Linked DNA regions of Homo sapiens: all the other regions are linked to region 2. Evidence: promoter capture Hi-C in human tissues and cell types (Jung and others, 2019). All regions are on one chromosome and are shown on one strand. The core of a region is centred on a gene start or on the middle of the fragment in contact, and the rest is flanking DNA. Distances in the headings are between cores, read along the strand shown. Region 1 overlaps CHAF1A (chromatin assembly factor 1 subunit A). Region 2 holds the start of EBI3 (Epstein-Barr virus induced 3). Region 3 overlaps SH3GL1 (SH3 domain containing GRB2 like 1, endophilin A2).

Region 1 (4,360 bases), core at 1,082-3,581, 190 kb after region 2:
CTGAAGTGTTCCTTTTTAGTATTAGAGTTTTCTACCATGTGGGAAAGAACCATTTCTGAAGTTTGCAATCAGACTTGTGATTTAGCCTCTTCTGTTAGTGATCGAGATGATTATTTGACAAATGATCATGTTGGTGCAGTTGTGTTACTGGAATCTTTGGCTTGCTTCTGTGCCCAGATTGCTGGAACTTCTTTCCATATACTTGAAATTACATTTGTAATAAATTCTCCATGTTTAAAAGAAATACTGGTCTAGGTGCAGTGGCTCAAGCCTGTAACCCCAGCACTTTGGGAAGCCGAGGTGGGAGGATTGCTTGAGCTTAGGAGTTCGAAACCAGCTTGACCAACATGGTGAAACTCCGTCTGTACAAAAAATACAAAAAATAGCGGGGCATGGGGGTGCACACCTGTAGTCCCAGCTCCTTGGGAGGCTGAGGTGGAAGGATCACTTGAGCCAAGGAGGCAGAGGTTGCGGTGAGTCATGATTGCACCACTGTGCTCCAGCCTGGGCAACAGCCAGACCGTCTCAAAAAAAAAAAAAAACAAAAAGGAAAAAGAATGGAAACCTTGAAGCCCTCTGTTCTCCCAGGAGGTTGCCATTATTATCATCATCATCACCTTGTGTTTTTCTGTGTCCTGTATATCCAGAGAGATCTCTAGGAAACACCCAGTATCATTTTGTTTCCTTGTGTATGACATATACTGTAAATATCTGTCTTTGTTACTCAAGGGTGTCTTAGATGTTTTTTATATTGGGATGGAAAGATGGAGCTCTTTTTAACAGCTGCGTGATATCCCATGGTGTGGACATGCTGTAGGTTACAGAGCTGTTTTCTCAGTTCTGCTGTTTCTGTGCTTGGCTTTCACAAAATGATTGTTCCCTTGAGCTTCCTTCTACAAGTGGCCTTGGGCTGTTAAGGAGAATGAGGTCTTGGTAGCTCAAGGCAATGCGTGCGTTCTTATTTTCCCAGCTTGCACTCTCTCATGCTTGGGCCAATTGGAGGTTTTCTCTTTTCCCCCCTGCCTCCGCTCCCCTGCTGTCAGGTTTTAGCGGCTTATCTGGTCTGGGCTTAGAAATTAGATACCCTTTAGTATAAAATCAGAGTCCATAGGCTCTGAGAGGATTATCTGAGAAAGGGTGCAGGAATTTTCATGCCCACACATAGTGAGCTCTGTCGCGACTCCTTGGGATTGTCGGTTTTTGTGTTTTGGCTTCCTTCTGGGATCCTGGATCACGTTTTTGGCAGTTGAGGGTGCTGTCTGACCGGGCTCCAGCTGGGTAGAATGTGGGAGTGTTGCATAGAATTTTGAGAGTGAGATCTATAAACACTTGGGTCAAATTTCAAGAAGATAAAGTTCTGTCAGACTTCAAGGTCCATCTGAGGGTTTGGCAAAGCAAAAAAGATACCAGTTTTAAATTAAGCAGTAATTGCTCTGTTTTGGTTGTTGGATATTACTGAGCGGGCTCTTGCCAGTCACATCAAGTCTGTTATCTCTGGACTCACAGCAGAGGGGGGGCATTGTAAGAGGCAGGAGATTCTGCAGCTGAGCTTCAGGCATGGGCAAGACTAAGGAACTGAATTCCCCGCCACCCCAAGACCACATTCCGTATTATAATCTCTGAACACAAAGGGCAGCCCCGGAGAGCTGCGGCTCCCATATTCTGCAGTTAAATCCCTCAGCGTGGGGGAGAGGCACACAGCCTTGGCAGGCAGAGTAGATGCTGGAGAGACAGATGCTTTTTCTGCAGCATTTGGTGAGGCTGCCTCGGGCTGGCATTTCTGTTGCCACATTCTCAGCAAAGACTGAACACCCTGGCCTGATCTCGGTGGTGAAAGAGCTCCTGCCAACACGGGCAGCCTTCTCACAACGGCTCGGCCTTTCCCTAAAGAAAGGTTTAGTCCAGAAAGGACTCAGTGGGACCCAGGTGGAAAGGCTGTCTTGAGCTCATTCATCTGAAGCTTTTATTCTGTGAGAGGTCCTAGTCAGGGGTTCAGCTTTCCCAGATAAAGAAATCACTGTTGGCCGGGCGCGGTGGCTCACGCCTTTAATCCCAGCACTTTGGGAGGCCGAGGCGGGCGGATCACGAGGTCAGGAGATCGAGACCATCCTGGCTAACATGGTGAAACCCCATCTCTACTAAAAATACAAAAAAATTACCCAGGCATGGTGGTGGGCACCTATAGTCCCAGCTACTGGGCAGACTGAGGCAGGAGAATCGCTTGAACCCGGGAGGCGGAGCTTGCAGTGATCCGAGATGGCGCCACTGCACTCCAGCCTGGGCGACAGAGCGAGACTCCGTCTCAAAAAAAAAAAGAAATCACTTACATAATTTTGTTGACCCCTCAGACCATTGCCAGGAAAATGGGCCTTTGGTTTTTCAGTCAACTTCAGTCTTACACTGCAAGTCTGCAATGAACCCGGAGAACTATTTCTTCCCACTCTTAAGCGTCTCTTCCCATTGCTCTTCACTTCTACTAGTTTGGTTTTCAGGATTCCCTGCCCCGGTGGGAGATAGCTTAGGCCAAAGTCCAGACTCCCTGTTCGTCTTCCTTCCTGGGACCATTTAGGTGGATGGTGAGTCACACCATGGATCCTATTGGTAATTCCTAGTAGCTCATGCTCAGTTTGAAGGTAGGTGATAGAAAATATTGTGCCCTAGAAGGTAGAAGTCCTAGAAAACCCCAGCAAGTTTCCCTTTTGTCTTAAGCTTTCACTCCACATTCTAAAAAGCAGAGTTGGCTGGGCGCGGTGGCTCACGCCTGAATTCCTAGCACTTTGGGAGGCGAGGCGGGTGGATCACCTGAGGTCAGGAGTTCGAGACCAGCCTGGCCAACATGATGAAACCCCTATCTCCACTAAAAATACAAAAATTAGCCAGGTGTGGTGGCACACGCCTATAATCCCAGCTACTCAAGAAGCTGAGGCAGGAGAATCGCTTGAACTTGGGAGGTAGAGGTTGCAGTGAGCCGAGATCGTGGCACTCGCTGCACTCCAGCCTCTGTGACAGGAGTAAGACTCCATCTCAAAAATAACATTAAAATAAAAAGCAGAGTTGAGCTAGACAGAATGTAAATTAGTGGTGCACAGGAAACCAGCCTGGAGACATGTTTTATTTGATTAATTTAGTATCTTTTTATTTTTTTTTTAGACAGTCTCACTCTGTCACCCAGGTTGGACAGCTCAGTGCAGCCTCAACCTCCCGGGCTCCTCCCACCCCAGACTCCTGGGTAGCTAGGACTACAGATGTGCACCACAACACCCGACTAACTAAAAGCTTTTTTTAGAGACAGGGTCTTGCTTTATTGCCCAGGCTGGTCTTGAACTCCTGGGCTCAAGTGATCCTCCCGCCTTGACCTCCCAAAGTGCTGGGATTACAGGCATGAGCCACTGTGCCCGTCTGTGTCCATTTTTAAACACCTAAAAAAATTCATATGAAATTCCTAATATCAGCTTCTCTTGGAGAAATTGGAAGGACCAGCAAATAGGGATCTATATTCCTGTAAGAACTCCATCTCCTTTGGACAGGCAGGTCCTCTCTCCTTTGCTACAAATCCATCCTCTCCCTGTCGCCCAGGCCAGCTGTCGCTTTTTTTTTTTTTTTTTTTTTAAGACAGAGTCTCACCCTGTTGCCCAGGCAGGAGTATGGTGGCGCAATCTCGGCTCACTGCAACCTCCTTCTCCTGGGTTCAAGCGATTCTTCTGCCTCAGCCTCCTGAGTAGGTGGGATTACAGGCACCTGCCACCACGCTCGGCTAATTTTTGTATTTTTAGTAGAGATGGGGTTTTGCCACGTTGGCCAGGCTGGTCTCGAACTCCTGACCTCAGGTGATCTGTCTGCCTCGGCCTCCCAAAGTGCTGGAATTACAGGCGTTAGCCACCGCGCCCAGCCTTGTCTGTTGCCTTTATTTCTGAGCTTGCCTTGTTTTTCTTGTGCTTGGTGTCCTTCACTCATTTCTTTATCTGCCTCCGTAGTCTCTCTTGTTATCTAATCCCAGATACACACATGTATGCACACTTACTGGAGTTTGTGACCCTATTATGACATTTTGGTTCTGTTGGTGGAAAAACTGATCACCTGGAAAGGTTTCTCTTTTTCTCGAAGCAATTGAAATAACCCGTGTTTAAAGATAAACGTCTTCTGTTTTCAGATAACTAAGAAATTCGTCAAAGGCTCTACAGAGAAGAACAAGCTCAGACTGCAAAGAGTAAGACATTTTCCCTGAAATAGAAAATTAACCTGCTGTGCTTTTTGCATTAAATAGTAAGCAAAGCCCTTTGAAGTTCCTTTGGTCTAGTTTTTACATTTTCCCCAGCCTTCTCTGACCATCATTTTGATTCCTGCTTCATTTTAAGTACTT
Region 2 (4,553 bases), core at 594-3,093:
TTTTGGTCAGGCTGGTCTCGAACTCCCAACCTCAGGTGATCCATCTGCCTTGGCCTCCCAAGGTGCTGGGATTACAGCCGTGAGCCACCGTGCCCCACCATCTCTCTATCTCTGTCTATCCTACTCTCTCATCTCTGTCTCTCTGTCTCTGTCTCTCATCTTCCCATCTGTGTCTCTCTTTCTCTGTCTTCCTCCCTTATCTCTGTCTCTGTGTCTCTCTCATTTCCCTATCTCTGTCTTCCTCTCTTATCTCTGTCCCTCTGTCTCTCTTCCTCTGTCTGTCTGCTCTCTGTGTTTCTCTTTCTGTTTCCATCATCTCCCTGTCTCTCTCTGTCTCTGTGTCCTCCTCCTCTCATCTCTGTCTCTGTCTCTCTCATTCCCCTGTCTCTCTCTGTCTCTATCATCTCCCTATCTATCTCTGTGTCCTCCTCCTCTCATCTCTGTCTCTCTCTGTGTTTCTGTCTCTGTCATCCCCCTTTCTCTGTCTCTGTCATCTCCCTGTCTCTCTATCTCTGTGTCCTCCTCCTCTCGTCTCTGTCTCTCTGCCTCTCTCATCTGTATCTCTCTCTGTCTCTGTCATCTCCCTGTCTCTGTCTCTCTCTATCTCTGTGTCCTCCTCTCATTTGTCTCTCTGCCTCTCTCATCTGTATCTCTGTCACTTTCTCTGTCATCTCCCTGTCTCTCTATCCCTCTATCTCTGTGTCCTCCTCTCATCTGTCTCTCTGCCTCTCTCATCTGTAGCTCTCTCTGTCTCTGTCATCTCCCTGTCTCTCTATCCCTCTATCTCTGTGTCCTCCTCTCATCTGTCTCTCTGACTCTCTCATCTTTGTCTCTGTCTCTGTCTCTGTCATCTCCCTGTCTATCTCCGTGTCCTCCTCCTCTCATCTCTGCCTTTCTCATCTCTGTGTCTCTCTCTGTGTTTCTGTCTCTGTCATGCCCCTTTCTCTGTCTGTCATCTCCCTGTCTCTATCTATCTCTGTGTCCTCCTCCTCTCATCTCTGTCTCTCTCATCTGTATCTCTCTCTGTCTCTGTCGTCTCCCTGTCTCTCTATCTCTTTGTCCTCTTCCTCTTGTCTTTCTCTCTGCCTCTCTCATCTGTGTCTCTCTCTGTCTCTGTCTCTGTCATCTCCCTGTCTCTGTCTCTCTCTCTCTGTGTCCTCCTCCTCTCGTCTCTTTCTCTCTGCCTCTTTCATCTGTGTCTCTGTGTCTCTCTGTCATCTCCCTGTCTATCTCTGTGTCCTCCTCCTCTCGTCTCTGTCTCTCTGCCTCTTTCATCTGTGTCTCTCTGTCTCTGTCTCTGTCATCTCCCTGTCTCTGTATCCCTCTATCTCTGTGTCCTCCTCTTCTTGTCTCTGTCTCTCTGCCTCTCTCATCTGTGTCTCTCTCTGTGTCTCTGTCTCTGTCATCTCCCTGTCTCTCTGTGTCTTCCTTCTGTCTTCTCTGTCTCTCTGCCTCTCTCCCCCATCTCTGCCTCTGTCTCCCTCCATGTCCCTGAGCCCCTGCCTGCCTGCCTGGGGTTTCCCCCGCTTCAGGGCAGCGGAAGGAAGGCCAGCAGGACATGCTGTGCTGGGAAAAGCCAGCAGGTCTCCACTTCTCCCTTTCACAGCCTCCTCCCCCGCCCCCACCCTCGGGGCCTTCCGAGCAGGGGTGGCCTGTGCTCCCCAGGGGGCTGGGGCTCCTCCACACCCTAATTCATCTCCCTAGCGGCCCCACGAGCCCCACCAGTGAGTCAGACCTGAAGGAAGTCGGGGAGGGGGCGGGCCTTGACCCTGGGCTGGGCTTTCCCCTGGGCAGGTCCCAAGTCCTCACCTCCCCTCTCAAGTCTCCCACGACGTTCCCACCCACTCCTGAGAGCAGAGCTGGCCGCAGCCATGACCCCGCAGCTTCTCCTGGCCCTTGTCCTCTGGGCCAGCTGCCCGCCCTGCAGTGGAAGGAAAGGTATGTGGGGCCCCTGGGGGACTGGGGGGCCCAGGCAGACGGACATGACACGAGGACTGGCCTCGGATCATGTCTGGGGTGGGAAATCACATCCTCCCGTGCCCAATGGTGGGATGGGGTTACCCTCCCATTGTACAGATGGAGGAACTGAGGCACAGAGAGGCAGAGTGCCACATTGGGGGTGGAAGGATGTCACCTTGTGGGTGATAGGGACTGGCAGTCACAGCTCAGAGGTATCCATAGAGCTACACAGACATAGCTACACAGACATGCGAATTTGAGTCACACTCATTCCTTTGGTTTCTTTTTGGTTTTGTTTTTTGAGACAGAGTCTCACTCTGTCGCCCAGGCTGGAGTACAGTGGCACCATCTCAGCTCACTGAAACCTCCATCTCCTGGGTTCAAGCGAGATTCTCCTCCCTCAGCCTCCCGAGTAGTTGGGATTACAGGTGCCCGCCACCATGCCCGGCTACTTTTTATATTTTTAGTAGAGATAGGGTTTTACCATGTTGGCCAGGGTGGTCTTGAACTCCTGACCTCAGGTGATCCACCCACCTCGGGCTCCCAAAGTGCTGGGATGACAGATGTGAGCCACCGCGCCCGGCCGACATTCATTCATTTTGCACTAGAGAACATCTCCATGTCCTTGAAGACAAAATGGTTACAGCAGGGCATGGTGGCTCATGCCTGTAATTCCAGCACTTTGGGAGGCCAGGGCGTGAGGATCGTGAGGCCAGGAATTCGAGACCAGCCTGGGCAACATAGTGAAACCGGACCCCACCAATCTGTACAAAAAATTAAAAAATTAGCTAGATGTGGTGGCACGTGCCTGTAGTCCCAGCTACTTGGGAGGCTGAGGTGGGAGGATAATTTGAGCCCAGGAATTGGAGGCTGCAGTGAGCTATGATTGTGCCACTGCATTCCAGCCTAGGTGACAGAGTGGGATACCTTGTCTCAAAATAATAATAATAATAATAATTTATAGGCTGGGTTTGGTGGCTCACGCCTGTAATTCCAGCACTTTGGGAGGCCAAGGCAGGTGGATCACCTGAGGTCAGGAGTTTGAGACCAGCCTGGCCAACATGGTGAAACTCCCTCTCTACTAAAAATACAAAAATTAGCCAAGCGTGGCAGTACATGCCTGTAATCCCAGCTACTCGGGAGGCTAAGAATCGCTTGAACCCGGGAGGCGGGGGTGGCAGTGAGCCGAGATCTCGCCACTGCACTCCAGCCTAGGCGACAGAGGGAGACTCCCTCTTTAAAAAAAAAAAACAATTACAAAAGAGAGAACACGGTAAAATCTCTCTCTCTTACCCGAGTTCCTCTCTGTAGATGCTTAAACCTCAGCTTCCCTATCTGGAAAATGGGCTAGTAGTCCTCACCTAGATGGATTGCAGTGGGGATAAAAGATGACAGATGACTTTTGTCCATGTACCTATTTATTCCGAAAGCCTTTATTAGGCACCTACCATGTACCTGGTGCTGGCTGGCAACGTGGCAGGAGCCCAGCGCACGGGAGGGCTATGACAATCTGGGGGTAAACCAGAAGCTCACTCTTTCTGTCTTCCTCCAGGGCCCCCAGCAGCTCTGACACTGCCCCGGGTGCAATGCCGAGCCTCTCGGTACCCGATCGCCGTGGATTGCTCCTGGACCCTGCCGCCTGCTCCAAACTCCACCAGCCCCGTGTCCTTCATTGCCACGTACAGGTCGGAGAGCCTGGAAGGGGGCCTCAGGGACACTGGACTTCCTGGAGAGCCCAGAACTCTGGCCCTGAGAGCCCTGGGGTCAGGAAAACTGGAGACCCCGACATCCTGAACCCCAGGCCTATGGAATTCTAGGGCGGCCCCGTCCAATAGAAATATACTTTCTGGGCCAGGCACAGTGGTGCATGCCTGTAATCCCAGCGCTTTGGGAGGCCGAGGTGGGCAGATTGCTTGAGGTCAGGAGTTTGAGACCAGCTTGGGCAACGTAGTGAGACACTGTCTCTACGAAAAATTTTAAAAATTGGTCAGGTGCAGTGGCTCATGCCTGTAATCCCAGCTACTCCGGAGGCTGAGGCAGGAGAATAGCTTGAACCCAGGAGGCGGAGGTTGCAGTGAGCCAAGATGGCACCATTGCACTCCAGCCTGGGCAACAGAGCAAGACTCCATCTCAAAAAAAAAAAAAAAAAACTACTTCCTGGGTTGGGCACAGTGGCACATGCCTGTAATCCCAGTACTTTGGGAGGCTGATGTGGGAGGATCACTTGAGGTCAGGAGTTTGAGTCCAGCTTGGGCAAAATAGTGAGACCCTGTCTCTAAAAACAATTTTTAAAATTAGCTGGGCATGGCCAGGCGCGGTGGCTCACGCCTGTAATCCCAGCACTTTGGGAGGCCGAGGTGGGCGGATCACAAGGTCAGGAGATGGAGACCACCCTGGCGAACACGGTGAAACCCTGTCTTTACTAAAAATGCAAAAATTTGCCAGGTGTGATGGCACGCGCCTGTAGTCCCAGCTACTCGGGAGGCTGAGGCAGGAGAATTGCTTGACCCAGGAGGTGGACGTTGCAGTGAGCCAATATTGCATCGCTGCACTGCATCCTGGTGATAGAGTGAGACCCCGTCTCAAAAAAAAAA
Region 3 (4,992 bases), core at 86-2,585, 140 kb after region 2:
ATAGGATGGCCAGGTGGGTGTGGGCTGTGAGGCCTGCACTCCTCTGCCCTGGCAGACTGCAGCCCCCACATCTCCTCCCCACCCTTGCTTCCTGTGCCTGTGGACAGCCTAGGCCACACAAAGCACAGTGGAATCCCCAGAGGGTCCCTTCCCTGCTCCTGCTAGCCTCAAAGGAGCTGGCAGCGGGTGGAGAGGTGACCAAGCTCCTCAGGGGGCAAAACCTCCTCCTTCCAAGGGCTGCTCCTCTTGGAACGTGGCTATGACCCCTCATCTGGGGGGTGCCAGGGAGGAGGCGCAGCAGTGATGTGCAGCGGGGGGTGGTTGAGGCCAAGGCTCCCGGGGTGGGTGATGAGCTGTGTCCCTTCCGCTGCCCGCTTGGGTCTGCTCCTGGCAGGGCCTGAGTGGACACTGCTGGGTGTGCGTCTGCCCCCTGTCCGTGGCCTCCTATGGAGCCAGCATTTGGGTTTTCCTTGGGGAAAAGCCCGTCTCTCAGCCAGGGAGACCCAGTCCCAAGCCCAAGAGGTGAAGTCCAGGCCAGGGGCACTGGGGAGGGGCGGCCAATACAAATGGATCCCACAAGTAAGCTGGGGGAGAGGCTCCCTGCCAGGACTGCTGGCTGGAAGAGGGGTTGAAGGCTGGGACGGCCCTGAGGAACCAGTCGGCATGAGAGTGAAGCCAACAGAGGGGCTGAGCTGCTGGTTGAGGTGGAAAGGCAGCATGCAGCACCAAGGATGGCCTCTGCACTCCGGGATCCAGCTGTGCCTGAAGCCCACAACCCATGAGCCTGGCGGTTCTGTCATCCCCTGCCTTCCCTCTGACACAGAGGCCAGAGGGCCTGGGGCAGGCCCTGGCAGTGGCTGGAGCACCCACCTGGGTTGGGCTGCAGGTACTCGATGGTCCTGGCCAGCACTTCTGTCACCGCCTTGCTGGTGACATCCACCTTCTGTGAAGAGAAGCAGCATATAAGACTCCACAGCCAGTGGGGGCCCAAGGCACACAAGACCCCCGCTGCTGCACCGCCTCCTGCCCTAAGAGCCCATACCAGGACCCCCCAACCCCCTCTCCATGTCTTCAGCTCAGCCATGTCCCCACAGCTGCCTGCCCACGGCAGGGGAGAGAGCTGGTGCCCGTCAAGTCCAGCTGACGAGGCCCCCACACCACCCCATCTCTCCACACCTGCCGGGCCCCATCACTCCAGACCCAGGCCCATCAAGGTTGGCCGCCTCCACTATGCCCGGCAGAGGTCAGGCCCCAGCAGTGCCACCACCACACAGAGCACGCAGTTTCTTCCTCACCTTCTCCATCTCTTTGAAGTCATCATCCAGCTTGGTCCCCTCGGCCCCTCCGACCTTCTCACTGACCAGCTAGAGGACAGAAGAGGGGAAACGCTGTGAGCCCAGGGGTAGGAGGAAGAAGAGGACAGGAGGCCCTGAGCCGCCTTCCAGCCACATCGCATCCACAGCTGGAGGCAGGAGGCCAAGTGATCAGGACACACACCTCAGGCACTGCCGTGGGCACCCCAGGGCCACACGCTGCCTGCAGAGCAGGGTGGGCCTGCAGGGGGAGGGGGAGGGTGGGGGTGGCCTGCCCACCTGTGTGTGTCCCGACTGCCACTCACATACCCACTGGGGACCCTGCCACAGTAGGCCCCATCTGGGCCACGGTGGAGTCCAGAGCCTCAGCCTGAGAACACATGGCTCAGAAGACACTGCTTCCAGAAGCGCCTACACAAACATCCCCACAGATAGCAATGTGGGGATCTGCCCCCATCCTTGAGTATGTGGGGTCTACTTAAAAAAAAAAATCCTGCCAGCTTGGCTGGGAGAGGCAGCAGGAGCTGACAGTTACGAGAAGAGGTGCAGGCAGCCGGGCAGGGAGGCCGCCATTCTCCTGTGCTCTGGTGCCCGTGTCTGCAGGATGGGACAGCCCAGCCCTTGCCCCATGTGGACACTGAGTTTCACAAGGCAGTCAACACAGGCCTGGCACACCTTGGTCCTCACGGCTCTCAGCTACGGTGAAAGCGATGACAATGACAGGCACTTACAGCGTCTTTCCTCGTGTGGTGGGAAGGCAGAAGCAAGCACTGAATTCCCAAACCACTCCCTCTGACAGCGCCTGGGATGCGAAAAACAGCCCTGAAATGTCCCATGGAACATGGCGGGAACCACTGAACCCCAGCACCGCTGTCTGAGCACAGGCGTTGCTTTCTTCACCCCACGTATCCCATGTGTGCCTGGCGCCAAGGGATGCCGCACAGAGTGAGGATGGACAGTGTGAGGCCCTTCCCAGCACACAGCGCTTCATGAAGAGCCGAGTGGCTGCCAGGCCCTGCCACAAATGGAGGCTCCCAGAGGGAGGCCGCCTGAGGTCACAAGCTTGGCCCTGCCCTCTGGGGGCCAAGTGTCACAGGGTGTGCCATCTCTGAAGTCATCGGCAAATTTAACATCCCGGGTCTGATCACTTGTGTGAAGACGTGCACACACGGCCTGGGCAGGAGAGTGAGGTGTTGCGTGCCGTGGGCCATGGCCTGTGCCCCTGGTGCTCCCCAGGTCTGATTGGTGCTTGCCTGCCCCGAGCTGTCACAAGACGTGGCCAAGGGATGCCATGAGGGTCCGTGTGGTGCCACACTGCGTTGGCTGTGTGGGGCTGGGGGGTGTCCAGCAGGGCAGTCAGGAGTTTAGGACCCAGCCTGGGAGGAAGTGACCCAAGAGCAGGAAGTGCGGGGGCAGGAGAAGCTTGAGCCTGGGGCTCTGCCCACGCCAGGCACCTGGTGTACCCTCTAGCCCATGCCTGGAGGTCACAGCCCAAGGCACCATGAGTGCAAATGCCCCCAACCCCAAGTTCTGCAAAAGGTAGCCTGCCCGGAGTACACGGCTGGTCTTGTGTCCTGGCAACCTGCCCAAAAAGACACCAGCCCCTTTGCCAAGGAATTCCTGGCCCTCCTCCAAGGCTTGGCTCTGGAAGCCCCCACACCACGGGACTGTCCTCACCCACGCATCGGGACCCTTTCTGTCCACCTGCCTTCATGTGCGGGGTGTGCCGGGCATTCAGTGAGCACAGGCCCCATGCCTCTGACCCCTGTCCCTTTCCTGCCTGTGGGTTGGTGGCTCTCAACTCAGCCACACAGCACCTTGGAAGCTTCTTAAAAATCCCCTCGTTGGCCGGGCGCGGTGACTCATGCCTGTAATCCCAGCACTTTGGGAGGCTGAGGCAGGCGGATCATGAGGTCAGGAGATCGAGACCATCCTGGCTAACACAGTGAAACCCCGTCTCTACTAAAAATACAAAAAAATTAGCCGGGCCTGATGGCGGGTGCCTGTAGTCCCAGCTACTCGGGAGGCTGAGGTAGGAGAATGGTGTGAACCCGGGAGGTGGAGCTTGCAGTCAGCAGAGATCCAGCCACTGCACTCCAGCCTAGGCGACAGAGCAAGACTCCATCTCAAAAGAAAGAAGAAAGAAAAAAAAAATCACCTCGTCACACCCACCGCGGGAGGGCTGACTCTGGCACAGGTGAGAAGCAGGAACTGTCCCTTGCGGGGCAGGAGAGTGGGGCTGCCCTCCATTTCTGCTGAAGGCATTAGGAGGAAGGAGCCCCCCCTCCCTAGGTGTTTTTGGGGCGTTCCACTCTATTTCCTGGGACAGTTTCACTTCTTTTGATTGTGGCGAGAGAGGGCGTGCTCAGAGCCAGCGGCTGCCGGAGAGGGAAATGAGTGGCTGATGTGAGACTGGACTCTTCTGGGAAGCCGGGAGGAGAACTGAAGCCAGCGGGCTGCGAAACCACACCTTCTGGGCGGAGGCCACCCCGGCCCCACGACCTGCCCAGGCAGGACCCAGTGTGCAGGCTGGCAGGAGTGGCTCCGTCAGGGCCCTTCCCCAGCCCCCTGCCTCTCACAGGGCAGGAGGAGAGGCCCTACCGGCGAGGACCACATCCTGCCTCTGAGGGGAGGGGCTGGGGACCCGCCACGGTACCAAAGACCCACCTGGTGGCCTCTGGCTCTGGCCCTGGCCCCACCTGCCCATCTCACCTGGGAATCCAGGACCCTGCCTTCCTGAGCCCCAGGACGACTTCCTGAACCCCCACAACCGCCTGACTCCTCGCACCCCTGACACCCGGGAGGCTGTGCCCTAACTACCCGGGTCCCTCTGCTCAGCTCCAGCCAAGTCCCTTGTGGTGACTGATGGTCCCCCACGGGCCAGGCACTGGGCAGGGGACACAACCCTGTAAGGCCCCTTCTCTCCAAGGCTTATGGGCTAGAAACCAGCACAGATGGACACAGGGATGAGCAGCCACAAGGGAAACACGGGAAAAGCAAGGCAGCCGGGCCACGTGCAGCGCCGGCCGCAAGCGCGGAAACCAAGCGTGGGCTCCTGCCCGCTGGGGCCCTACTCACTGCGGTCTCCACACCAGCACACTGCTGAGCACGGAGGGGACCGAGAGTCTGCGGCAGAGCTGGGCGCCACGGGGAGGCTCACCAGAGGGCGCCTCTGGGCTCGCTGTCAGGAGCGAGTGTTCCTAACCCTGGTGCCATCTGCCAGGCAAGAGCTGCCTGTTGTGGGGCAGCCAGCCCCAATGCCCCCGCATCAGAGACCCTACCGGTGGGGAGGGAGGACTGAGGCCATGGTCCCAGCAGTCCATTCCTGCCGAGGGAGACTCTGCAGGCTGGCTGTAGCCCTGACTAGTGCAGCGGACTCAGCAGTGGCAATGACAGCTCCGCACTCGAGTCCATCCCATACCCACAAGGCTCGCCTCCTGTTCCCACCCCGCATGGCAGGAAACGGAGGAAAATAATGGGGCCACTCAGTAGCCAGGGACCCAACAGGGCTCAGGGGTGAGACCACCCTCCGCTGACTGAACCTGCATCAGGGTGGCAGGGTGGGTGGGGGCCCCCTCCCCACTCTCCCACAGGGCCCCACCTGGACGGGGTCAGAGTACCAGCTGCAAACCCCGAGTGACCAACCGCAGGCCCCACAAGGGCTGCCATCCTGAGAGCA

What was found. Contacts are between HindIII fragments. The study calls those that stand out against the background at their distance.
Region 1: a contact is called between a fragment that was not itself captured here and the fragment with the promoter of EBI3 in region 2, in 1 of the 25 tissues and cell types used here (dorsolateral prefrontal cortex).
Region 3: a contact is called between a fragment that was not itself captured here and the fragment with the promoter of EBI3 in region 2, in 1 of the 25 tissues and cell types used here (dorsolateral prefrontal cortex).

What each region holds. Positions count from the first base shown.
Region 1 is chr19:4,413,870-4,418,229 of GRCh38, forward strand. CHAF1A (chromatin assembly factor 1 subunit A) reads left to right here. Exons shown (of 15, transcript NM_005483.3): 4 at 4,151-4,207. Among named protein-coding and RNA genes, the nearest start is that of CHAF1A, 13 kb to the left of the region's middle. The HindIII fragment of the contact is 3,051 bases long and covers 807-3,857 here.
Region 2 is chr19:4,227,680-4,232,232 of GRCh38, forward strand. EBI3 (Epstein-Barr virus induced 3) reads left to right here and starts at 1,844. Exons shown (of 5, transcript NM_005755.3): 1 at 1,844-1,938; 2 at 3,512-3,644. The coding sequence starts at 1,872. RefSeq lists enhancers at 2,064-2,153, 3,117-3,618. The HindIII fragment of the contact is 27,598 bases long and covers 1-4,553 here.
Region 3 is chr19:4,365,631-4,370,622 of GRCh38, forward strand. It overlaps SH3GL1 (SH3 domain containing GRB2 like 1, endophilin A2), which reads right to left. Exons shown (of 10, transcript NM_003025.4): 2 at 1,296-1,364; 3 at 871-943. Among named protein-coding and RNA genes, the nearest start is that of MPND, 25 kb to the left of the region's middle. RefSeq lists enhancers at 292-1,213, 3,362-4,311, 3,670-3,859, 4,312-4,992. The HindIII fragment of the contact is 3,201 bases long and covers 1-2,936 here.